Regions from separate parts of the Homo sapiens genome. Here all the other regions are linked to region 1. The links are contacts of gene promoters, found by promoter capture Hi-C in blood cells and fetal thymus (Javierre and others, 2016). All regions are on one chromosome and are shown on one strand. Each heading gives the region's core, a stretch centred on a gene start or on the middle of the fragment in contact. The rest is flanking DNA. Distances are from core to core; before and after follow the strand shown. Region 1 holds the start of CAPSL (calcyphosine like). Region 2 overlaps PRLR (prolactin receptor). Region 3 overlaps PRLR (prolactin receptor). Region 4 overlaps PRLR (prolactin receptor). Region 5 has its middle 40 kb from the start of DNAJC21. Region 6 overlaps AGXT2 (alanine--glyoxylate aminotransferase 2). Region 7 overlaps DNAJC21 (DnaJ heat shock protein family (Hsp40) member C21).

What was found. The method cuts DNA at HindIII sites, captures the fragments that hold promoters and counts their contacts. A CHiCAGO score of 5 or more calls a contact.
Region 2: a fragment that was not itself captured here is called in contact with the fragment with the promoter of CAPSL in region 1 in 14 of 17 cell types (total CD8 T cells, naive CD8 T cells, naive CD4 T cells and 11 more); the score reaches 18.9 in total CD8 T cells.
Region 3: a contact is called between a fragment that was not itself captured here and the fragment with the promoter of CAPSL in region 1, in 5 of 17 cell types (total CD8 T cells, naive CD8 T cells, naive CD4 T cells and 2 more). The highest score is 8.1, in total CD8 T cells.
Region 4: a fragment that was not itself captured here is called in contact with the fragment with the promoter of CAPSL in region 1 in 5 of 17 cell types (naive CD8 T cells, M0 macrophages, naive CD4 T cells and 2 more); the score reaches 6.7 in naive CD8 T cells.
Region 5: a fragment that was not itself captured here is called in contact with the fragment with the promoter of CAPSL in region 1 in 2 of 17 cell types (naive CD8 T cells and naive CD4 T cells); the score reaches 6.6 in naive CD8 T cells.
Region 6: a fragment that was not itself captured here is called in contact with the fragment with the promoter of CAPSL in region 1 in 1 of 17 cell types (monocytes); the score reaches 6.4 in monocytes.
Region 7: a contact is called between a fragment that was not itself captured here and the fragment with the promoter of CAPSL in region 1, in 1 of 17 cell types (naive CD4 T cells). The highest score is 6.5, in naive CD4 T cells.

The regions. Positions count from the first base shown.
Region 1 is chr5:35,937,202-35,940,301 of GRCh38, reverse strand. CAPSL (calcyphosine like) reads left to right here and starts at 1,680. Exons shown (of 5, transcript NM_001042625.2): 1 at 1,680-1,761. It overlaps CAPSL-DT (CAPSL divergent transcript), which reads right to left and starts at 1,501. Exons shown (of 2, transcript NR_104630.1): 1 at 1,378-1,501; 2 at 309-579. The HindIII fragment of the contact is 5,426 bases long and covers 1,311-3,100 here.
Region 2 is chr5:35,098,450-35,101,886 of GRCh38, reverse strand. The region is part of intron 2 of PRLR (prolactin receptor); the gene reads left to right. Among named protein-coding and RNA genes, the nearest start is that of AGXT2, 52 kb to the right of the region's middle. The HindIII fragment of the contact is 346 bases long and covers 1,131-1,476 here.
Region 3 is chr5:35,115,536-35,118,700 of GRCh38, reverse strand. PRLR (prolactin receptor) reads left to right here. Exons shown (of 10, transcript NM_000949.7): 2 at 579-640. Among named protein-coding and RNA genes, the nearest start is that of AGXT2, 69 kb to the right of the region's middle. RefSeq lists an enhancer at 60-1,259. The HindIII fragment of the contact is 961 bases long and covers 877-1,837 here.
Region 4 is chr5:35,052,394-35,055,790 of GRCh38, reverse strand. It overlaps PRLR (prolactin receptor), which reads left to right. Exons shown (of 10, transcript NM_000949.7): 10 at 1-89. Among named protein-coding and RNA genes, the nearest start is that of AGXT2, 6.1 kb to the right of the region's middle. The HindIII fragment of the contact is 4,296 bases long and covers 1-3,397 here.
Region 5 is chr5:34,968,268-34,971,253 of GRCh38, reverse strand. No RefSeq gene overlaps it. Among named protein-coding and RNA genes, the nearest start is that of DNAJC21, 40 kb to the right of the region's middle. The HindIII fragment of the contact is 425 bases long and covers 1,302-1,726 here.
Region 6 is chr5:35,030,772-35,034,071 of GRCh38, reverse strand. It overlaps AGXT2 (alanine--glyoxylate aminotransferase 2), which reads left to right. Exons shown (of 14, transcript NM_031900.4): 6 at 519-612; 7 at 1,247-1,340. Among named protein-coding and RNA genes, the nearest start is that of AGXT2, 16 kb to the left of the region's middle. The HindIII fragment of the contact is 2,677 bases long and covers 382-3,058 here.
Region 7 is chr5:34,947,848-34,951,308 of GRCh38, reverse strand. DNAJC21 (DnaJ heat shock protein family (Hsp40) member C21) reads right to left here. Exons shown (of 12, transcript NM_001012339.3): 10 at 967-1,139. Among named protein-coding and RNA genes, the nearest start is that of DNAJC21, 20 kb to the right of the region's middle. The HindIII fragment of the contact is 2,318 bases long and covers 96-2,413 here.

The DNA.
Region 1 (3,100 bases), core at 431-2,930:
TTAGTTTGACTAAAATATTTTAAGCTATCATGATTACCTAGAGATTTGCCATTTATGAATATTTGATTAGGAATCCAGTAGTAATATTTTACAAATCTTTTTACCGTATTACACCATAGACTATCATTGTCTTCTTTACCACTGGAAAGAGTACTTATGCCTTAAAATATAATCAATATTTTATATTGATTGTCAGAAACCCAATACCACAAACCCAGATCCAGTTTTTTGAACTGGTAAAACCCTTGGAATTACACCAGTTGCTAGCAGTGGAAACAAGCAAAAGCATTGCTTAAGTACTCCAGAGATTTTGTTCTTTTTACTTTATTTGACACAACCTGGAGGCAGACTATTGAGGGCTTGCACGGTGGCTCCATCATGCTGTCCGTTGTCCCAATTTTCCTGTTTCTTTTTTATCTTTTCTTAAATTATTGCACCAAACTTACTCTCCAGTAGGTGGCTTTCAAGAAATACTTCATATTTAAATGCCCATGCCCTCATATTTGCTTCTGCATTCACAGATGAAATTAAGTTTCTTCTTAAAAGTTTCAAATGCGTGATATCTTGTGGGTTAAACCACTGAAAAGAAAACATTAGACATCTGAGGTTGCCCTGGAAGAACCACAGTTCTAATTGCTTAATTCTGGGACAATTCTTCAGACAATTCAGATAAAAGGATGAAATAGCTACTATGTATACTCCCTGCAGATATAGCAAAGGACCCAAGCCCTTGTCAAATCCATGAAAGAACTTGCCTAGTAGTCTGCAGAGCTGGGTGCCTGGCATCTATTCCGTTTTGTGAGTTCTTATACTGCAAGGATGTTGCACACAGCCAGGATTATGTTATATACAGAGATGTGTGTGTGTGTGTGTGTGTGTGTGTGTGTGTGTGTGTGTGTGTGTGTCAGAGAGAGAGAGAGAAAGAGAGAGGTGTAAGGTCTGAATCACCACTAATTATACCTGCCTGCTCCTGAAAGCAGGACGTGCAGGAGTGGGAATGACAAGGATAGGGTGGATGTCATAGATACACAATGAAAGAGAGCATAGTGTAGATATTTTCCTCCAAATAAGCCACTAGATTTCTTCTTATCTGGCAAAGTAACTGCTAGGGAACATGTGAAAAACATAAGTAAAAAGAAACAAAAAGAGAAAAGAAGAGAAGAAACCAAGGATGAAAACAGCAGAAATGACATCCTCTGCAAATGCAGAGAAGGAGGGAGAACCTTGAATCACCTATAATTACCCCTGCCTGCTCCCAAGAGTTGTGGTTTTAAGTATCACCTGGCAATGAGGCACCCTAGCAGTAAGCTTTCTGGGGACTACAGAAGGACAGGAAGGTGCTGCCTAAAAGAAAGAAGACAATGTGCTGAATACTACCTTACAAAACATGGGAGACAAGTTTTGATGCTGTTCTAGAAACCAAACCATTGCCAGCAAAACTTCTGGCTGGCTTCTCTCCCAGTGCAAATGGCTTGAGCTTTCACAGTCACTGAGATTTCCTAGGCAACAGGAGTGTAAACTTGAGAAAAGGCAGAACCAGAGTAGAGATTGACAGTGAGCTGAGCCAATCAGGCTGTGAATCTGCAGCAGTGATCCCAGGTCCTCCAATTAATACTAAGAGAGTGGACCAGGGCCCCTGAGGAAGACAGGTAAGAGGGAGGAGGCTAAGGTGGCTTGGGAGGGACCAGTTTTCCTAGATGCAGGAGACAGCGTCCATAGTTTCAGTTCGAAGCAACTGGTGGCAAAAGGTTAGCATTTAAGGTAAATCAATGTTTTTATCTATTCTATGATTTAATGTTTTTTTTTTTCTTGGTATGTCTTAGCTGAGAAAAGAAGACAGTAGATGTTACTCTCTAAAAAGAAAATCTAAAAGTCTTTTGAGAGTTCTTGGACTAGAGAAGCCATCACTAGGCTGTCAGTGCAAGAGGAAAGAGCTTGGTACTGGGAAAGATTTTTGTAATCTTTGCAAAAAAAATGCTTAGATAAAAATGCACAAAAATAAATTTCATTCAGTAAAGGGGAAGGAAGTAAACATTACTGAGCAGTCATTAGGTACTAGGTATTTGAGTGTGAAGGGTTTGGGTGAATTGCTCTAACGATCCTGATGACCACTGATAAAACTGAGCTTCAGGGAGGTTCAGCATTTCCAAGTCACAAAGCAATAAAACATTTCAACTTTCATTCAGACCTTGCTTTGTCTGATACTTAAACTTATGCTATTTCTGCTATACACTGACAACTGAGAATCAGAATAAAAATCAGGATGCTTATTAAAGTGTACATACATGGCTTGTTCAAAATTATATCAAATAGTTGATTTGATTCATCAGAGACTTGAGGGGGTCCTTTACGTTCTCATTAAAGGACAACACCAATGACCCAGGCAGCCATCTCTATTGCCTTCAGTCTGGGGAGTATTTAAACCATATTAAGTAGATGAAATTCTTACCTGTTTTTTTTTTTTGACTTATTTTTTCCTCAAATCCTACAACCACAAAAATCTATTTTGTTATTGAAAGTTTTAAATATTGAGATTTGAATTTCAGGCATACATTTGTATTTATATTCTGATAAAAATTACCCAATAGCAATGACAATGATAAATTCTAATAGCAATAAAATAGCCTCCTGCTAAGCCCTGATGATATGGTGATAGTAAATGCAAAGGATACAGCTCTACCTCGTAAGGACCTTATAGTCTGTCTAGCAGGGCAAGTAATTCGAAAACGAATTACATTGTCTTGCAATGTGAATGCTATTTGGACTTCACCACATGATCATGGAAGGATGGGTGGGACTTCTCTGGGCCAACAGGAAAAAGAAGGTGTACCTGCAAGTGTGACTACATGTACAAAGGCACAGAGATACAGAATGCTATGGTGTGTTTGGGGAATGTGAGTGAGTAGAGATGCAGGATAGATTTTGAACGGATGGAGAATTACTAGAAATGGCTGGAGACATAGGAAAGGCCAATGCATGAATTCAATGCTAAGAACTTTCATTTTACCTGTATGCAATGGGGGACCATCAAAGGGTCTTAAACTATATCATGAAGTTCATGTTTTCATTTTCTAAAGATTGCTCAGTCTTTTGAAAGACA
Region 2 (3,437 bases), core at 54-2,553, 840 kb after region 1:
CACTGTACTCCAGCCTGGGTGACAGAGCAAGAGTCCATCTCAAAAATATATATATATATAATATATAAAACATATATATGTTATTTATAAGTTATATATATGTTTTATAAGGTATATTTATGTTTTATATGTATATATGTTATATATATGTTTTATATATGTTTTATATTTATATATGTATGTTTTTATATATATATGTGTTTTCATTCCTGAAAGGGTGTGCTTTAGATATTTAGACATGATGATGCCAGAAAAATATGTTTTAATTGTGTGCATTTATGAAGGAAAAGGAAGAATGGGCTGAGAATTATTATTGCCTTGCTAGTTGAAGATTTCACAATGGAGGTTGTCCCAGTTCTTGAAGTCTCCACATTTCCTTGATTTCTGATATTGCGATTTTTATTCACTTCAGCTACTAACCCAACCACCTTGCAGCCACATCTCAGTGGGCTTCATCATCCATCTGCCCTTGAGTTCAAATTAATGCACACAAAGAGGTTACTGGAGGAATCAAGAAGGTCTCAGAACCTATCCCTTAGGAATATGGAGAGCCTGTTGATTAATGGAAAAGAGTTGCACAACTCAAGGCCAAGTGCTGTTTCCGTGGATCTGTACATGAGAATACTGCATTCTATATGACTTTATAAAAATAGTCACCCAACAGGTGTTGTTGAACACCTGTAGACATGTTTACAGGTGACAGTGTAGGGGGCTGAATATGTAGATGAAGCCAAACTGAGATTGTTCTGGAACTTTGATGATGGTATTCCAGACGGGACAATGGCAGTGGGTCAGGCGTTGGAGGCTTCCGTCTTAATCACTGCTCTTCTACTTGGTTAAATGTAGTAGTTACCATCTGCAGTAGGCTGTACTGGTTGTCTCTGGATTGTCCCTAGATTTGCCCAACTAAATAAAGCTAGCCATTATAACACCCAGCCTCTTAGCTCAGAGCACAACAGCCAAAGGTTTATTTCTCACCCATGTGACAGTTTGCTGGTGGTCAGCATGAACTCAAGAGCCTTTCATCTGTTGGCTGTACTGAGCTTTTAGGACCTCACAGTCCTCAATTTCATCTTCTTCAGGCCAGTAATGGAGGAGAGAGAAATAGAGGGGGGAATATGTAAAAAGCTTTAAAGACCAGGACTAGGCTAGAAGTACAGTCATGCATCGCTTGACAATGGGGATACTTTTTGAGAAATGCATCCTTAGGTTATCTTGTTGTTGCTTGAACATCATAAAGTGTACTTACACAAACCTAGATGGGATAATCTGCTGCACACCTAGGCTATATGGGATAGCCTATTGCTCCTAGGTTACAATCGTATACAACATTTTACTTTACCGAATACTACATGCAATTGTAACACAATGGTAAGTATTTGTGTATCTAAACATAGGAAAGGTATAGTAAAAACACAGTATAAAAGATTTTTTAAAATGGTACACCTGTAAAGGGTACTTACCATGAATAAAGCTTGCAGGACTGGGAGTTGCTTTGGGTGAGTCAGTGAATGAGTGGCGACTGAATGTGAAGCCCTGGGTCATTACTGTACACTACTGTGGACTTTATATACACTGTACACTTAAGCTACACCAAATTTTTTTTAAATTTTTTTCTTCAGTAATAAATTAACCTTAGCTTGCTGTAACTTAACTTTATAAACTTTCTTAAACTCATTTTGACTTTTTTTTTTTTTTTTTTTGAGACAGAGTCTCGCCCTGTCGCCCAGGCTGCAGTGCAATGGCTCGCTGCAAATCTCGGCTCACTGCAAACTCCGCCTCCCAGGTTCAAATGATTCTCCTGCCCCAGCCTCCCAAGTAGCTGGGATTACAGATGCCAGCCACCAGGCCCAGCTAATTTTTTTTGTAGTTTTAGTAGAGACGGGGTTTCACCATGTTGGCCAGGCTAGTCTCAAACTCCTGACCTCATGATCTGCCCGCTTCAGCCTCCCAAAGTGCCGGGATTACAGGCGTGAACCACCGTGCCTGGCCTTGACTATTTTGTAATAATACTTGGCTTAAAACACAAACACATTGTTCAGCTGTACAGAAACATTTTCCTTCTTTATATGCTTATACTATAAACTTTTTTCTATTTTTAAAAGTTTTTTTGTTTTACTTTTTAAACTTTTTCATTAAAAACTAAGACACAAACATTCACATTAGCCTAGAACTACATAGTGTCTGGATCGTCCCTATTGCTGTCTTTCACCTCCACATCTTGTCCCACTTGAAGTTCCTCAAGGATGATAGCATGCACGGAGCTGTCAGCTCATGACAACAATGCCTTCTGGAATACCTCCTGAAGGATCTGCCTGAGGCTATTTTACAGTTAACTTTTTTTAATAAGTAGAAGGAGTACACTGTAAAATAACAATAAAAAGTATAGTATAGTAAATACACAAACCAGTAACATAGTTATTATCAAGTATATATACTGCACATAATTGTATGCGCTCTACTTTTATACGACTAGCAGTGCAGTAGATTTGTTTACACCAGTGTCACCACAAACACGGCGTAAAGCATTACGTTACGATGTTAGAATGGCCCTGACATCACTAGGCAATAGGAACTTTTCAGCCCCATTGTCATCTTATAGGACCACCACCATATATGCAGTCTACAGTGGGCAAAGTTTGTCATTCAGTGCGTTACTGTGTGTTATTTCTACCCACTTTCAGAGGCCACCACTTCATCACCTGACCTCATCTAACGACAGGGGAAGCAATGAAGTAACTTTAACTGTGTGGCCAGAAAGGAAAAGAAAACCAAATTCTGATGGACATCTGATGTTTTTACTATTCCTATGAATGTATTCCAAGGTTCTGAGAGGGTAGGGAAAGCAGGAATAAGAGTGGGAAAATACATTTAGCAACATTCTTGAGAGTTTTTTCTTAGACTTGTCAGTGTTCTCAGTTGTGCCCATCCTCAAGCTCCAAAGATTCTCCCACAAGGCATTTGGCCAAGGCACTTCATTTTTCCAGGCCTCAGTTTCCCCATGTGTTAAAGTGAGGGGTTGAATTAGAATACCTTTCAAGTCTTTGGGCCCCTTAAAGATCCAAAATCCCATGATTCTGTAATGATTCTGTATGATTCCCCTGATGTTCCCTTCCCCCTGAGACAAATAAGCAGTGCCAGTATGCCAATAATTTATGTTTTATTTTAATTTTCCTTCTCACCTTCAAAGCTTGAGTTTCTAGATATTAATATATAACAATAGACAAAGTTGTTATGAATACAGTAGTGACTTTTATGGCAAAGTAAAGTTATTTTGTGTTTGGATGAACAGCACATTCACACACGTATATAATATACACAGAGCTCCATCTGTGAAAAAATAATCTTGTTTGAAGTCTTGCAAAACTTATGTCCTCCTCCTACTCTTGCCCTGTATTAGTTTTGCAATTAGTAACAAACAAACAACCGTGACATCT
Region 3 (3,165 bases), core at 108-2,607, 820 kb after region 1:
CCAGTTCATCTATAACTATGTCAGAATTTGTTAAGAAATTTCATTAAAGTCTCCAGGACCAAATTTTATGAAATCTAATCCCAACTAGGATAACTGGCAAAATTTGAGTAAGCTCTATAGATTAGGTAATAATACTGTGTCGATGTTAATTTTCCTACGTTAATTATTGTACTACATTTATGTAGGAGAATTGTCCTTGTTCTTAGGAAAACACACTGAAATATTTAGGGGTAAACATGCATCATGACTGTGACTAGTTCACAAATAATTAGGAAGTAACTTTTATATACAGAGAAGAAAGATTATAAATCAGATGTGGTAAAATAGTAACAATTGAGGTATGTGGGTCGAGGGTATATGAGATTTTTTTTTTTTTTTTACTATTTTATAACTTTTCTGTAAGATTAAAATTACTTCAAAATAAAGCTGCCAAAAAACAAATTCCAGAACACTAGAGCTGTCTCATGCCTATCACTGAGGGGCCAATGTTCAGCCATGCTACGTACTGCAGAGTGAGCCAGAAATGGAATCTCCCGTTTTGTCATCTTGGAGCTAAAATGAATCATTTCCTCTTTCAGCTAAAGAACTCTCCTATTCATGGAGGCGAACACTGAGGATGCTTTCCACATGAACCCTGAAGGTAAGGGGGACTTGTTCTCATGCCCCTCGGTCACACCACCCATCTGCCCCACTGTCCGTTTCATCCAGGGCAGGGGCTCAACTATCTTGGTTTACAGAATATCATCTCAAACCAGTCAATGTCTACACTGGCACATTCTGCTGTCTTCAAAGGCTGTTTCAGTCTCCCCAGCCTGTCCAGCTCAGAAAAACTGATGTTCATCCTTTTCTGTTTTTCTCAAAGAAAATACCAAAGCTTTTAATAGCTGATATCTCCTAGTGGTGCAATCATGAGAGATTTTTATTTTCTCCTTGTAGTTTTCTGTAATTGAGAGATTATCGACAATGACTATGTTACTTCTATAATCAGAGAGAGAAATATTGTGCTTGCTTTTATTTTCTTAAGCAACTCTACATAAATTCTTGCCACAACTTTCTGGGCCCCGTAATGTTACTGCTGTGTCTCCTTCCTCCCAGCCCTCATGGCAGGACTCATGTGTGACAGGCTCTGGGTCTTCTCTCATCTGCCAGTGGCAAGGAAACCCTAGGCTGCCAGGACTGCTTAGCAAATAGATCATGAAGTATTACGACTCCATTTTACAGATGGAGAAACCAAGCCCCCTGACTTCCCTCTGTCTACACTACAGGCAAATGGGATCTGGACCCACTGAGATGAGCTCGACATGTACGACTTTGAGGCTGTACTCTCTCATTCAGAGGAAGTTAAGGAGCCAGGAAGATAGGAAAACAATGAAGTTATTGGTTGAAGAAAATCCTAGACAAAATTTTCCTGGGACTTCTTGGGGCCATCTAGGGAAACTTACTAGTCTTCCCACATTGAAACATGATAGCCCCTTGAGAGCCATCATGCCGCTTTGGTGTCAAGTTCTGAGCCTGAACTTGCCCTCTGGGCCAGGGTTTCTCAAACAACAGTGTAGGCATTCTGGGTCGGATCGTTTTGGGTGGTGGGGCTCCTCTGTGCATCATTTGATGCTCAGCAGCATTCCTGGTGTCTCCCACTAAATACCAGAAGGACACCACCCCACCCCAGCTCTAACAACCAATGACATCTCCAGACAGTTCCAAGGAGGACAAAACTCCCCCCAACAGAAGTAACAATAAAATAATGTTTCCAGGCTTTGCCAAATGTCTTCCAGGTGGGGACAAAATTATCCTACCAAAAACCACTGCTTTAAGTTGCCTCAGCCCAGCAGAAGCTTTTGTTTTTCATGGAAATCGACTGAAATTTATAGTGTTCACAATAACATTAGCAAATACTTGCAGAAGAAGTGTCATCAGTCATCAAAACGCTCTGGGTACAAGAGTGCCCCACAGCATAATAGCCCTGCCCAGGAGCATCTGGTAACATTGGAAGTGGTGAATCGACCCATTCAGACTTCTCTGTGCTTTCTCCCGTCTTGGCTTCTACCCCTTCATGCCAAATGCCTCATGCTATTTACTGGAAGGAAAGGCAAATGAAGGAGAACAGGGCAATGCTGAGTACTGAGTGGACCTTTCCTTTAAGAGTTTGAAGAGGTCAGAAAGCACCCAGTAGTCAGAGCTGTGTTGCAAAGCTCCCGGAAAATTTGGCCGCTACTTTGTATTTGTGTGTGTATTCATTATTCATAGACATGTATTCATAGACAACATTATTGCTCAAAAGATTTGAGACATATTCTCCACTTCACTTTATATAATTTTAACTTTTTACAGCAAACAGGTCACCACTCTAAAGAGTGGCTTAACCAGAAATCCTTTTTTAAAAAAAATTAACCAAATAGTATAAAGTAGATAAGGTGGCAGTAGCAGATTTATCTGTGGTACCAATTGGCAAACCAAGGCCCTAAAAGGAAATTCCAAAGCCCTAGGGTTTGTACACACACTTCCTATTCATCTTTAAGTGCACCTCATGGACCTTTTATTCCTCTGATTGATCTTCCCTGACCCCTGCACCCAGCCTCCATCATCCTCCACCCTTTCCCAACCTGGTGTTTGGATTACAAAGATACTTCTGATTCCAGTGGCTATCTGTGAAATCACAGGCAGGAACTTGAAAGCAGTTGCATGGTCATCCAAGAGAAACAGAAACACAGCTCAGTTTCAGGGTGAAAAGAACATCCAGAAAGCAATATTCATAGAAGAATTCAGAGGGGGGGACCCTCCTTAAAAGAGGGGATTAAAAGTTAAGAGTAAAATTGCAATTCCTGTCCAAGACTTGACCCAAAGTGCCGCAGTCCATTTTGCAGCCTTTTATATGATGTCTGGTCTCTCTAACTTAATTGTTAACTTTCCAGTCCTGTCCCAGTGGTAATCATCACTCCCTAACAATCACTCCCTCGTGCCCCATACCCACCCAGGGTGGAACAAACTGTCTTTGCCTGGCATACCAGATTCTTTTGCAAGAGCCCTGGCATCCTTCAGGCTCTGCCCATTCCAACCCTCCCACCTCCAGCCCTTTCCCAGGCCCCCATCCGCACACTTCTGCCCTTAACTCTCTCCAGACTGCAAGAAGCCAAGAGGAGATTAGAAGCAGCCCAGGGTCCTCGG
Region 4 (3,397 bases), core at 824-3,323, 880 kb after region 1:
GCATTTTTCAGTCCCTTTTCAGAGCAAATGCTTTTGCAATGGTAGTAATGTTTAGTTTAAATTGACTTAATAAATTATTACCTGAGCAATGGTTTTTGGAGGGTCTTTATATATGTATGTGAAACATGCATTACATGAAAAATTTAACTTGAAACAAGTTTTTTTTCTTTGCCACAACAAAATTTATTAGAATAGATTTTTTTAAAGAAGGAGGGGGAACTGCATTTTAACTCCGGAAATAAAGTATGCAGACATATGCGAAAACATTTATCTTAGGACACTCACCCATGGCATTTTTTTCAGGCAGAAATTTTTGTGCTCATCTTTGAACACCTCTGAGTTTATTTTCCTACTAATTCTAAATCAAAACTGAACACACATTTCCCCAGTCTTTATTCATCTGCCAGACTCGAGCCTTAAAAATGCAAGCATGCTTGGAAGCACCCAGAAGTTTCTTGGAACTTCTCCTGGGAACAACAAAGAACAATCAAAAGGAGAGTTTCCAAACCTGAGATTCGATCAACTTTCCCATGTTTCCAAACCTGAGATATGATCAACTTTCATTTAACAAGCCACAAATCTCAGGACCAAAGTTTCACATTTTCTTTTGTTCGTGTTTTCCTGACTGGAATTATTCAGTCTTTACTTAAAACCAGCTGTGAGTTCATCATCCATTTGTGATCTTTTATTTATTGCATAAAATATTTCACAAATACTTGAACATATATAGAAAAACATAACAAAGGCTCATTTACCCACATCCAAATCTTTAAATATTCATATTTTGCCTTGTCTGTTCCTTTCTTTAACAAAGATTCATTTAATATCACAGATGCTGTATTTACATCCCTCAACAACCAAATTCTCTACCTCTCTCTTCAGCAGTAACTACAATCCTAAAGTTATTACATATCCTTCCCAGCTATTTTTAAAATGCATTCACCTCATATTTATCTATCCCTAAATAATATGACCAATTACTTTGGTATTTATGAGTTTTGCATAAAAAATAGCAGATATCTTTATGCACTTTGATTTTCTTTCATTCGGCATTGGGTTTTTGAGATACAAATAGCTCCAGCTGCTTAGTTTTATACATCTATACAATCTATTAAACTCCCTATTCATCAACATTTAATTTTCACTGCTTTATGCATACAACTGCTGTGGTTGTATACACATATACAGTTTATTAATCTCCCTATTTATCTACATCTAATTTTCACTGCTTTATGCATATAGCTGCTGTAATTGTACATATACATATAATTTATTAATCTCCCTATTTATCAGCATTTAATTTTCATTGCCATAAATGACAAAAGTTGTGTGTATACCACTGCTATAATTTTACACATATATACTATTTATTAATCCCCCTATTTAGCAACATTTGATTTTCACTGCCATAAATGACTATGCAATGAGCATTCCTATGCCAGTCTCACTGGAATATGTGCAAAAGTTTCTCCAAAATATACACCTAGAGGTGGAATTGTTGGGTCATGTAAAATGCATATCTTAATATTTCCTAGATGCTGACAAATTGCTTCCTCTCCAAAGCAGTTTTACTGATGTGTACCCTTGCCATCAGTGTAGTATTTCCATTTCTCGTCATCTTTATCACTACCTGATGCAGTCAGATATTTTAATGTTTGACAATTCAATGAGCATAAAATGATGCATTGTTATTTTACTTTTTATTTCCCTGATGAATCCATTTGTATCTGAGTAACTCATCCTTTTCCTGCTTATCTTTTATGCCATCTTTGTCATCTTCTGAGTGTCTACATATGCCCAAATGTTAGTCCAGGCTTTTCTGGCCCATTTTTCTGTGTATCTATTCCTGTCCTGGTGCTCCACTGTTTTATTACCATATTTTATACAAAGTCTTGTTATCTGGTATATTAATTCTCACACCACCATACCCTTCTTCAAAATTGTTGTGGCCATTCTTGGCCATTTACTCATCATATGAATTTTCAGATGAGCCTATCGGGTCTCCTAAAAAATTGTGTTGGGAGCTAGATTGAATTTATGTTTTAATGCCAGAAGTTACATCTTTATAATATTGTGCCTCCTAATCTTGAACATGGTATATCATTTCCTTTACATTGGGCTTCAATAAAACTTTACATTATTCTTTATAAATGTTTGCATATGTTTTATTAGATTCATCCCTAGGTACCCTCTCATTACAACCTCCACCTCCCGTGTTTAAGTGATTCTCCTGCCTCAGCCTCCCGAGTAGCTAGGATTACAGGCCCACACCACCACACCCAGCTAATTTTGGCATTTTTAGTAGAGACGAGGTTTTGCCATGTTGTGCAGGTTGGTCTCAAATTCCTGACCTCAGGTGATCCGCCGGCCTCGGCCTCCCAAAGTGCTGAGATTACAGGCGTGAGCCACCATGCCCAGTCCCACTGATGTTTTAATACTGATCTTGCATTCTGTAACCTTACTGAACTCTAATTAACATTCTTATAATTTGTAGGTTTTCTTGGATTTTCAATTTTTACAACGGTATCACCACAAGCTAACAACACTGTTTCTTCTTTTCCAGTCTTTATACCTCTTATGTCTCTTTCTTGATCTATTTTATTGGGCTTCCAGGACAGTGTTAAATAGAAACGTGTTATGGGCATCCTTTCTTCTTCCTGACTTTAGTGAGAATGCTATGAAAAGTTCACTATTACATATAAGGCATCATGTAGGTGTTGTAGAGGGGAAAGGAAAGCTGCCATTTTGCCCTCCGAGGGTTCACTAAAAGTCACTGACAAAAGTTGAATTAATAGGAGAAAAGGCATACAAATTTATTTGATTATAGTTTTATGTGACATGGGAGCCTTCAGAATGAAGACCCAAAGATACAGAGGAAACTGTCCATTTTTATGCTTAGTTTCAACAAAGTACGGACAGCCTTGTAGGAAAATGATTGGACCTAATGCCGACAGACTGAGTGAGAAAACCTAGCAAGGCCTGTCTGTCTAGATTTTTCTTAGCCTCTCTGTGTAGGAATGCCTCTCACCATTCCTTCCTTCTGGGTATGGGGCAGGACCCTCTCTGGAAAGGGGGTCTTATGACCTACAGTCAAACAAGATAGGTCAGGTTATCTACAGTCAGTTTTTACACAGAAAGTCTGGTGTAAAGTTATAGTAATATTTTTAGACTGTAAAGCTGACTTTGGGGCAAGAGGGTTCCAGTTTCCATGACCTGCCTTGGGGAAGTGAGATTCCAGTTTCTATGGCCAGGCTCTGGAGAGAATGAGGGACCAGACAGGAGGGCAGCAGGTCAAAGAGAACTGCTGCTGGGCCCCTACAATTTTTCAGATACCCTTAGTTATGTGAAAGATATGCCTTTATATTTCTAGTTTGCTAACAATTTTTTATCTTAACTG
Region 5 (2,986 bases), core at 265-2,764, 970 kb after region 1:
TGCCTAAAAATTCAGGAACTTTCCTCTAGTGATTCTCTTTTTACTTTGTAGCCTTGAAAGGGTTTATCTACAAAGCCTCTCCTTGTCTCCTGGAGTCCCCCTCATTTCTCTTGGCCACCATAATAAAACAGCCCTTTTACTGAAGCTAAGATAAGGTCCTAGTTCTTTATCCTGGGAGATCCAGGTTAGGGCAGGTAAGAAAGGAAGCAAAGGAGGGAGACTAATCTCTCTTAGATGGTGTTGTTTACCCTAATGGTTCCCTTCCCAGCGTCCACTCTCCTGCTTCCTCCTTCCTAAGATAACGAGATTTTGCTCAGGTTTCTTGCTAAGAGATCTGGGATTTGGCTCAGTGTTCCCCAAGTGACTCAGGAAAAGCTAACTCCATCCCCAACTCCAGGGTAGGTTCCTGGATACTCTAAGCCAATTATAGCAATGCCATCCCACTTGTGGGAAGTCAGTCCTCCTGGGGCATTCCCATGGCTACAGGTTTCAAAGGCCCTGTGACTCAAGTTGGCCCTTTCAGACTGAAAGGAGGGACTTTTCATGATGGGTGAAGAGGGTTTTTCCTCTCTCTCTCCTTCCCTCCCTCTCTCTCTCTTTTTCTGAGCCCCCCACTCCAAAGCCCCCTCCTGACAGTGTGAGAGGACAATATTCTGTCCCAGTTGATATTGGCATCCATTTTTTGACCATGAGGGAAGGCTGCCTGAGGACAAAGATAGCACAGGAGATAGGGAAGACAAATATATTAGCAGACAAATGGAACTGGAGCCCCCATGGATTGTTTCCAGAGCCTGCACAATTTCTTTTAACTGTTTTGGGAGATAATATACTTCCTTATTAACTAAGTTCATTAGAAATTTTGTTTCTTGCATCAAAAACATACTATTTGACACAGATGCAGATAGAATTCTCTGTCTCAGGTTGACTTACTCACATACACTTCATGAATATTCATTAAGCATCCTTATACACATATTAGGTCCTATAGTAGATACAAGGATTCAATATGCTGCTGTCCTCAGAAGCTTACAGTCTAGTACAGAAGTCGTGACTTACACATATGAAACATTTCCTGACAATGGGAAGCAATGTATGCTTTTTGAAAGTTTGTTTTGAAATTTACAACACATGTTGTCTACCCCTTCTACTCCTGTTCCTGAGATGCAACTATTCATGAGTAGAGTTTATCCTTCTAAAAGCTTCAATGTCTTCTTCCTGAGGCAACATATGGTAAGAATTAAGTGATAAAGGAGTTCAGGGGAGGAAAAACTTACTCAGGCTGAGGAGATATTAGGAAAGCTTCATGGAAAAGAAGTCATGTAAACACTATTGCCCTAAAGCTCAGGTAGCAGGGTCCCTGACCGGGCTTTGTAGGGATAAAGAGCATGCCACCCCAAAATGTGCCATTTTGGCATATCTATTACTTTGAGTTAAAGGCACTTAAGAAACAGCAGGTGCAAGAATGGCATTCTGATCTTCCTTTTTCTTCCTCAAAGCAAGAGATAAAACTCTCATGTGAAAGGTACCCTCCCTGACCAGGAGGAAGGAAGACACTCTTATTCTCAGAGATGGGGTGTCAAAGCTGAGAGAGAAACGGGTACCAAAAAACCTTATTAAACTAACCCTTATCTGCCTAGCCACTTTTCCACAATTAAGTGTTCTACCCCAAACCTCTTTGTCATGTTTTCAAACTTTACTATTCTTTGTCCAGCCTGTTAGGTAAGCTTTCAGCCCTAATTGCTCCTTTGAGTTTCGTTTTTCTTGTGAGGGCTCCCATGTACAAGTAAAAATTACTAAATAAAGTATGTATGCTTTTCTGTTATTCATCTATCTTATGTCAATTTAATTCTCAAGCCTAGCCAGAGAGCCTAAGAGGAAAGGGAAATTTTGCCTCCTCCAGAGCCCCCACTTAGCCTTCCTTTTGCCATGTCCCTTCCTAGGGAACAAGGAATCCACAAAGCCCTGTGGTTTAGACCATAATCCAGATACCCAGAACCCCAGAATTGCCTGCCCACATGACTCAAAGCCCACTTGCAGGGCCTACATGGGTCTTCCAGGTAATTTCCCATTTAAGGTCAACTGTGCCATATAACGTAACAATTAGAGGGGTGATATTTTAATCATATTTTTGAGTTCCAGGACAAGAACTCTCAGGTGAGGGGAATTTTTAAATTTTGCCTACCACAATAATAAAATTCTAGAAATAACCAATATGTGAAGCTGGTATGAAATTCCAAAAGCACAAAAGGTGATATAGCAAAAGAGTCTCCAGCCCTTATCTCTTCTCTCCATCACCCAGTTTACCTCACCATGGATAGTCACTGTTAGTGGTCCTTCGACCACCATATTACACAAATACATCCTGCTTTTTTTTACCTTAATACTATATCTTGCAAATCATTTTGTAGCTGTATCATAACTTATTAGCTATCCATGGGTATTTAGGTTATTTAGAATATTTTTCTTTTACAAAAAAAGTGCTGTGATTAAAACCCTTTTAGAGCCAGTCTCCATGCATGCCACTGGGGGACCTGGAGATCAATCTGCCTTGCTTGCCACCCACCAGCGCCCATGCACACCTTCCAGGGGCCTACAGACCAGCTCCTCCTGCTCACTGCCACCACCTGTACCTACTGTCTGGAGGCCTGAGGATAGTCCTACCCTACCCACCGCCACCAGCACATGCATGCACTATCCAGGATGGACCCACCCCAACTGCCACCAGTACCTCCATGTGCTGGACACTAGCCCACCAAGGCCACCACTGCCACTGCTGGCATGTGCATGCACTGTATGAGGGTCCAAGGGTTGTCCTCCAGCAATACTGTAACCACTTAATGGATTTACCTTGCCTGCTGCCTAGACAGAGCCAATTTATCAAGACAGAGGGATTGCAATAGACAAAGAGTTATTCATGCCGAGCTGGCTGTACAAGAGTCCAGAGTTTTTTTTACTATATTATTCACATCAGTCTGCCTGAGCATTC
Region 6 (3,300 bases), core at 471-2,970, 910 kb after region 1:
TTACACTGATGATTAGGAGCATTTATACTAAATATGACTGTTTCACGTTCAAAAGAAACAAAACCTGTGTTTCTTAGATGGAGAATAAGGTGATTTATAAGGTGTGTAAGTCCCTAAAGATATTGAACAACAGGTATATCATAGGAAAAAATATTTGGCTTCCCAAAGCGACTACTTCGAAGACTGGTATTCATTGAACATACAATTTCTGGTATGTTGTTGCTAAAAGATGAGTCTCATTACTATGGAATAATAGAGTAGGGAAGGTCCTAAGATTGGAGTTCTTGGACAAATGTTCTCCAAAATTCCTTTCACAGTTTCAAATCTGTTTTCTAACAACAGTTAGAAAAGACTATTAAGTACATTGATCCGACATAAGCTTAGATGCGTTCTTAGAAATCAGAGGTGAATGCGAATGATGTTCTATTTCATCTTCATAGCCTTCCTGGGTTTTCTCTTTTGTCCTACTCAGTGGACCAGGAACTTGACCCCATCCTCCTGTTGTTTCTTCTCTGCAGAGGAGCCTACCATGGATGCAGTCCTTACACACTTGGCTTGACAAACGTAGGGACCTACAAGATGGAACTCCCTGGTGGGACAGGTTGCCAACCAGTGAGTTTGGAGATTTTTCTCTTGTTTCTTTAAAGACTGCTGGGTATGTGAAGTAGTTGATCAGGTTTTCCTGGTATAAGGATTAGAAACTAATATAAAGCCTGTCATTAATCAGGGGCTCAATTTGACCTAATTGAATTGGAGACCACTTGAGGACACCATTAGAAAGGCCTTCCGAGTCTGAGTAATAATTAATGACAGAGTTTTAAAATGTATTTTGCTTTTAAATAAAATCAAGTAAACTGCAAGGCTCTGAGAATCTTGAATGCACAAAACTTCTATGCAGTCATCACTGTACTCACCTTCTGTTCCCACTTACTGTACCCACATTTTCAGCATCTGAATCAGATACCTAATTATTCTTATTCTTTCAGATGCCCTTACCCACTGCACCCTTGAGCAAGCTGTTTCCAGGCTAACATTGAAATCAGTTTCCTTTGTAGAGGGCCCACATAGCTGATTTCTAAGAAAAAATTATCTCTTCAAAGCAGATCCTTCAATTTTCATCTTAAGTGGGGGAAGAATGAGGGAGGAAAACTAAGAAGCCCTCTTGTCTTGATGGCAGCCATATGCTACCCTAACTTGGCTGTCTTGTGTTCATGCTTTGCCACACTCCTTCTTTTGTCATTTGCAGACAATGTGTCCAGATGTTTTTCGTGGCCCTTGGGGAGGAAGCCACTGTCGAGATTCTCCAGTGCAAACAATCAGGAAGTGCAGCTGTGCACCAGGTCCGACTGGGCAAGGGGGGTGCCAGTGGAGTGTTGGAAGTTGGAAGGGACACGAATAAAGGCAGACCCATCCCTGAGGGAACAATTGAATTTGAAAACATGGAAAAGGGAAAAGCCAGAGGAAGCAAAACTGGAAAGTAACCAAGTTATTCCTCATTGAATCAACGCTTATGTCTGCTATCACTTCACTCTCAGACCATCTGTCTGGCCATGTAGGAAAAGCATCTCACGCTATCAGAGCCAAGCTCAAAAAAACGACTATCAGCTGGTACTTGATTCAAGGCATTCTATTAGCTCTATTATAATAGCAATAGCTCTGGTGTCAATTTTAAAAGACAACAAGCTGGGCGTGGTGGCATGCCTGTAGTCCCAGTTACTCGGGAGGCTGAGGTGGGAGGATTGCTTGAGCTGAGGAAGTCGAGGCTGCAGTGATTCATGATTATGCCACTGCACTCCAGCCTGCATGAAAGAGCAAGGCCCGGCGGGGCATGGTGGCTGACAGCTATAATCCCAGCACTTTGGGAGGTTGAGGCGGGCAGATCACCTGAGGTCGGGAGTTTGAGACCAGCTGGCCAACATGGTGAAATGGTGTCTCTATTAAAAATACAAAAATTAGCTAGGCATGGTAGTGTGCACCTATAATCCCAGCTACTCGGGAGGCTGAGGCTCAAGAATCACTTGAACCTGGGAGGCAGAGGTTGCAGTGAACTGAGATAACGCCACTGCACTCCAACCTGGGCAACAGAACAAGACTCCATCTCAAAAAAAAAAAAAAAAAAAAAAAAAAAGCAAGATCCCATCTCTAAAATGAAAAAACTAAACAACAACCAAAAAAAAAAAAAAAACAAGAAATCAAGATGGGTGGGATTATTAACCCATACCAGTGGAAAGAGGGAAAATAATGCTTTTGGCAATCTCAAAACTCCAGTCAAAAAGTTCTCCAGGGACTGCCAGCCAAAATGAGAGCATCCGTCAAACAAAACACAAGGCTGCCCTTCCTACAGGCTGCTGACAACCCTGGCAAAAGTTTTAAAGGCTTTCTCACAAGGAGAACTTCCATTTACCAATCACATTTTTATTCGCATTCTTTACCTACGCTTAACAGGAGGGAGAGGAGGCAGGAAACATCATCTGTTCCTTGCTAATCAACAAGCCCTGCCTCTGATTTGTCATCACAACCTTTTTAATAGCCGCTCCTTAGTACTTCTGAAGGAAATAACTAAATGCTTCAGCCCAGTGATTTTTAATGGAATAGTATGAATCACTGGGTTGAGAGGAAAAATACAAAACAGAAGTCTTAAAAACCAGCTCTGAAAGGAAAAAAATTCACCATCGTCTTAAAATTCAGATGACATAATAGCAAAATGGAGGTAAGAGAATGAAAGAGTAAGTAGTGAAAGAAGACAAGATGTCACGCTCATGGAATTTAAAACCAGAAGGAAATGTAAAGCTATAAATCAAACTCTCCACTTTAAACATCAGGAAAGCCAGTTTCACATGGAGGAGACTGGAGAGCTAAGATTTTACCCCAGGTCTTCTGACTCCAAAGCCAGTGCTCCCAATTCCTATAGCCATCCTCATCCACACTGATGTGCCGTCAAGATAAACCCAAGCTGAAAAAGCATTCCTATTCCACAGGCCAGGACTGAGGAGCTGCATGAAGTCAAGAGATGGATTCCACTCTCAGCCCTGGCATGGTTCAGCTATGAGCAAAAGCTTCACCTTTTGCTTCAGTTTTCTCATTTGTAAAACAGAGACAGCAATATCTGGCTGCTGCCAACACCATCACGGCACTTCATGAGATGAGGCACGGAGAACTTTTGTAGAGAAAAACAGACCATAGCAATGCCTGGTAAAGCCGTATTTGAATATTGCATCTGTAAGGCATCAAGAACTAAAATCAGTTTGATGCACCTCCCAGACCCTGGTCTGACTGCAAAACCACCAGCACAGAGCCTAG
Region 7 (3,461 bases), core at 5-2,504, 990 kb after region 1:
CCCATTTGTAGAAAGGGAACAAACACCTGGTGTCAGAGTGAAATACATGTGAATTTCCCTTTCTAGGCTTCAACTCTCCAAAGTTCTTCAAAGCTTCAACATTACCAGTTTGTGTAGTTCTTTATATACCTTTTTCTATAGCCAGAGTCATACTGTAGGTCTCACCCACATCTGTTTCCTCCTTCCTACTACTAAGTGCCTTAAACTCCGAAGTACACACACTCCCCACCCCATCACTGTTGCTCCAGTGTTAGCATTTTCACGTCATGCTCCCACTTTGCTCTCTCACTTTAATTCTTTTCAGGGTTCTGTAATGACAGAAACTTGAAGCTCCTCACTATCAGATCTTTCCTCAAGAAATAAGAAATGATTCTCTGTTCTAGAGGAACCGAGGAGGATGGGGAAAAGAAAGTCAGACAAGAGGAGGAAGGAGAGAACAGGACTGGCTACCTCCCTTGGGTGAGACCTCCTCCTAGTCCACACCATGGCCTTGTGCAGCACCAAGAGTCCAGGGCTCCTCTGAGCAGGAAGGGCCCCAGCTGCTGCCATGTGTCCTCACAACATGGTGGGGCCCAACACAGGCTGCTGTCGTGAGCATGGAGATTTGCTTAGTGACACTCCAGGGACGCAGCAGGAGTCTTGTTCTCATGTGAGTGTCAAGTGTTAATGATCCACGACAAAATCAGCGCCACAGCAGGATAAGGTAAACAAGAACTGGATCAAAGTGACATCTTTCTGATTTTGGCCATGCTGCTGAGATGTGTGTGGGCACATTCCTCTAGCATCCTCTTCTCAACGCTCTTCATCTGTATACATATGTGTGTGTGTATCTATACATAAATATGTACAGATACATCTAAATTACCTGGTCAGTCATGGGAAAGAAGATTTTATTTGATATATGAAAAGCTACATCCTTACTATCAATATTCAGTAATTTACAAATAATATGCAACTTTGACTTACCTTTTAGCTTCACTTTTTGGATCATCACATGGTTTAATGATCTCTGTGACACTGACATTTTCCTGGGGACTATCTTCCAATTCTTTGGCACTGTCTTGATTTAAGTTAGTATCTTCTGGATCAACCTTTACTCCTTCTCCAGGTCCATTTACATTGAAATTGTCATCATAATTCTAGGTAATAAAACATATGTGCCGTTACAAAATAAATATAATACTACTACTAGCTTTTTATGTTATGTTGCCAAATAGTTATATACCTTCGGGAAATAAAAAGGAGAAGCAGGTAAGTTAAGAACATGGATGCTCATTACAGTGATAGTAAATTAAGGGAAATCTGAAAAGAATCCAAATGTTCAAAAAGTGAATGGCTGAATATATGAAGAAAAATTCTGAAGTGCTTAAGTATCATGTTTCCAAAGATACTCAATTATGTGAAAAAATACTTACAACATATTAGCAAAAGTAGAAGAAAGAAAATTATACATAGTGTAATCACAATTTAATTCTTTATTAAGTAATCTCTACAGGTAAAATTAAGGATGATACTTTTCCATATTCCAAATGATAAGCAATGAGCAACTATTCTTCTACAGTCACAAACAATGGCAACAACAAACAGGCATTATAAAAGAAAGACGCCTGGCAAACATATCCTAAGCGTACCTGTCTGTTTTCAAGCAACATTTTGGCACATTTGTGCTCGCTCTCTCCATCTCTTCTCTCTCCCAACACACACTTTTTTCCCCAAGCCATCTGAAAGTGAGCTGCAGGCAGATATGAATCTTTGCCAGGTACATCCTAAGAATCAAAACATTCTCTGGCACAATACTCACACTCAAGAATCTAATGCTAATATTATCTGTTACACAACCCACATTCAAATTTACCAATTACTCCTTTTCCTGTATAGGGATATACAGGATAGGGGGTGTAATCAAGGATCACATGTTGCATTTAGTTGTCAGGTACCTTTAATCTCCTTTATTCTAGAGCAGCTCCCCCACTTTTTTTTTGTCTTTCATGATGTTGACAATTTGATGTTTTGTAGAGTGTCCCATAATCTGGCTTTGTTTGGTTGTTTCCAAATGATCAGATTCAGGTTAAACATTTCTAGCATAATACTATAATCCCGGGAAGCAAAATGAGTTTGTCATTTTTCAGTGATATTATTAAGTTTGATCATTTGGTTAGGGTGGTATTGCCAGATTTTTCAACTGTAAAGTATGTTTTCCCTTTTTAAATTAATAAGTAATCTGCAGAGTGTGACTCTGAGACTGTGTGAATATCCTGTCCCCATGACCATTTACCGAATATACTTGGCATCTATTAATGATTCTTGCCTGAAACATTTATATACTGGTGGATGTAGAAGAGTGATTTTCTCCCTCTATTACTTGTGTCATTTGCACTTGTACTAATTAATATTTTTCTGTAATAATAAAGCTTTCCTATCTCCTTTCTCCAACTTTTTTTTTTTTGAGACAGTCTTGCTCTGTTGCCCAGGCTGGAGTGCAGTGGCGTGATCTCAGCTCACTGCAACCTCAGCCTCCCAGGTTCCAACGATTCTCCTGCCTCAGGCTCCTGAGTAGCTGGAATTACAGGCGCATGGCACCACGCCCGGCTAATTTTTGTATTTTTAGTAGAGATGGGGTTTCACTATGTTGGCCAAGCTGATCTTGAACTCCTGACTTTGTGATCCACCCGCCTTGGCCTCCCAAAGTTCTGGGATTACAGGCGTGAGCCACCGCACCTGGCCAGCTCTCACTATTTTAAAAGTCAATATAGATACATAAATTTCTTTTTAACAAATGCAATGTATGAAGATCTATTACCCTTATTCCTTTTGATGACTCAAGTTTTCCCTAACTGGCAGGCCCCGCAAGCTGGATCTTGAGTACTTCTAACGTATCCCCATCAGTTTTTGAGCACTTCCTTAGTTTCTAGTATAAGATGCTCTAGGCTCACGTTCCACTTTCCTAGTCTCAGCCCTGAAATCAGGTATTTCTCCAAAGAGCAAGCCTGTTTCCTTTTCATGGAAAAGTGAACTTAAAAACCAAAACGTGTGCATTAGGTGTACTCACTGCTAGGGGTGTCACTGCTTCTAGGTCCTCACAATGCACACTGCTCACACACTTACTTTCTTTAAATCATGGGCTCATACCAACATCTCCACTTCAATCCAACTCTACAGTATTCTTCTTCTCTTTTCCTCAATTTATATTTGTATTTCCCTCTTCCCACAAAAAGAATATGGTTCCCAGCTACAATTTATTCATTTAATTCCTTTTTTTGGGGGAGGGGTCAAGGATCAAATAATTTAATTTTATTAAGATGTCAATACAACCTACATTGTGAACAAATTCAATATAATTTCTATAAAAATCCCAATAGCACAGGATTTTTTTTTACAGAACTATTGCTTAAAATTTTTAAATTTGATTATGAACTATAACTAGCCAAGCACTCACGAAAAAGAGGAGGCATTATACTTCC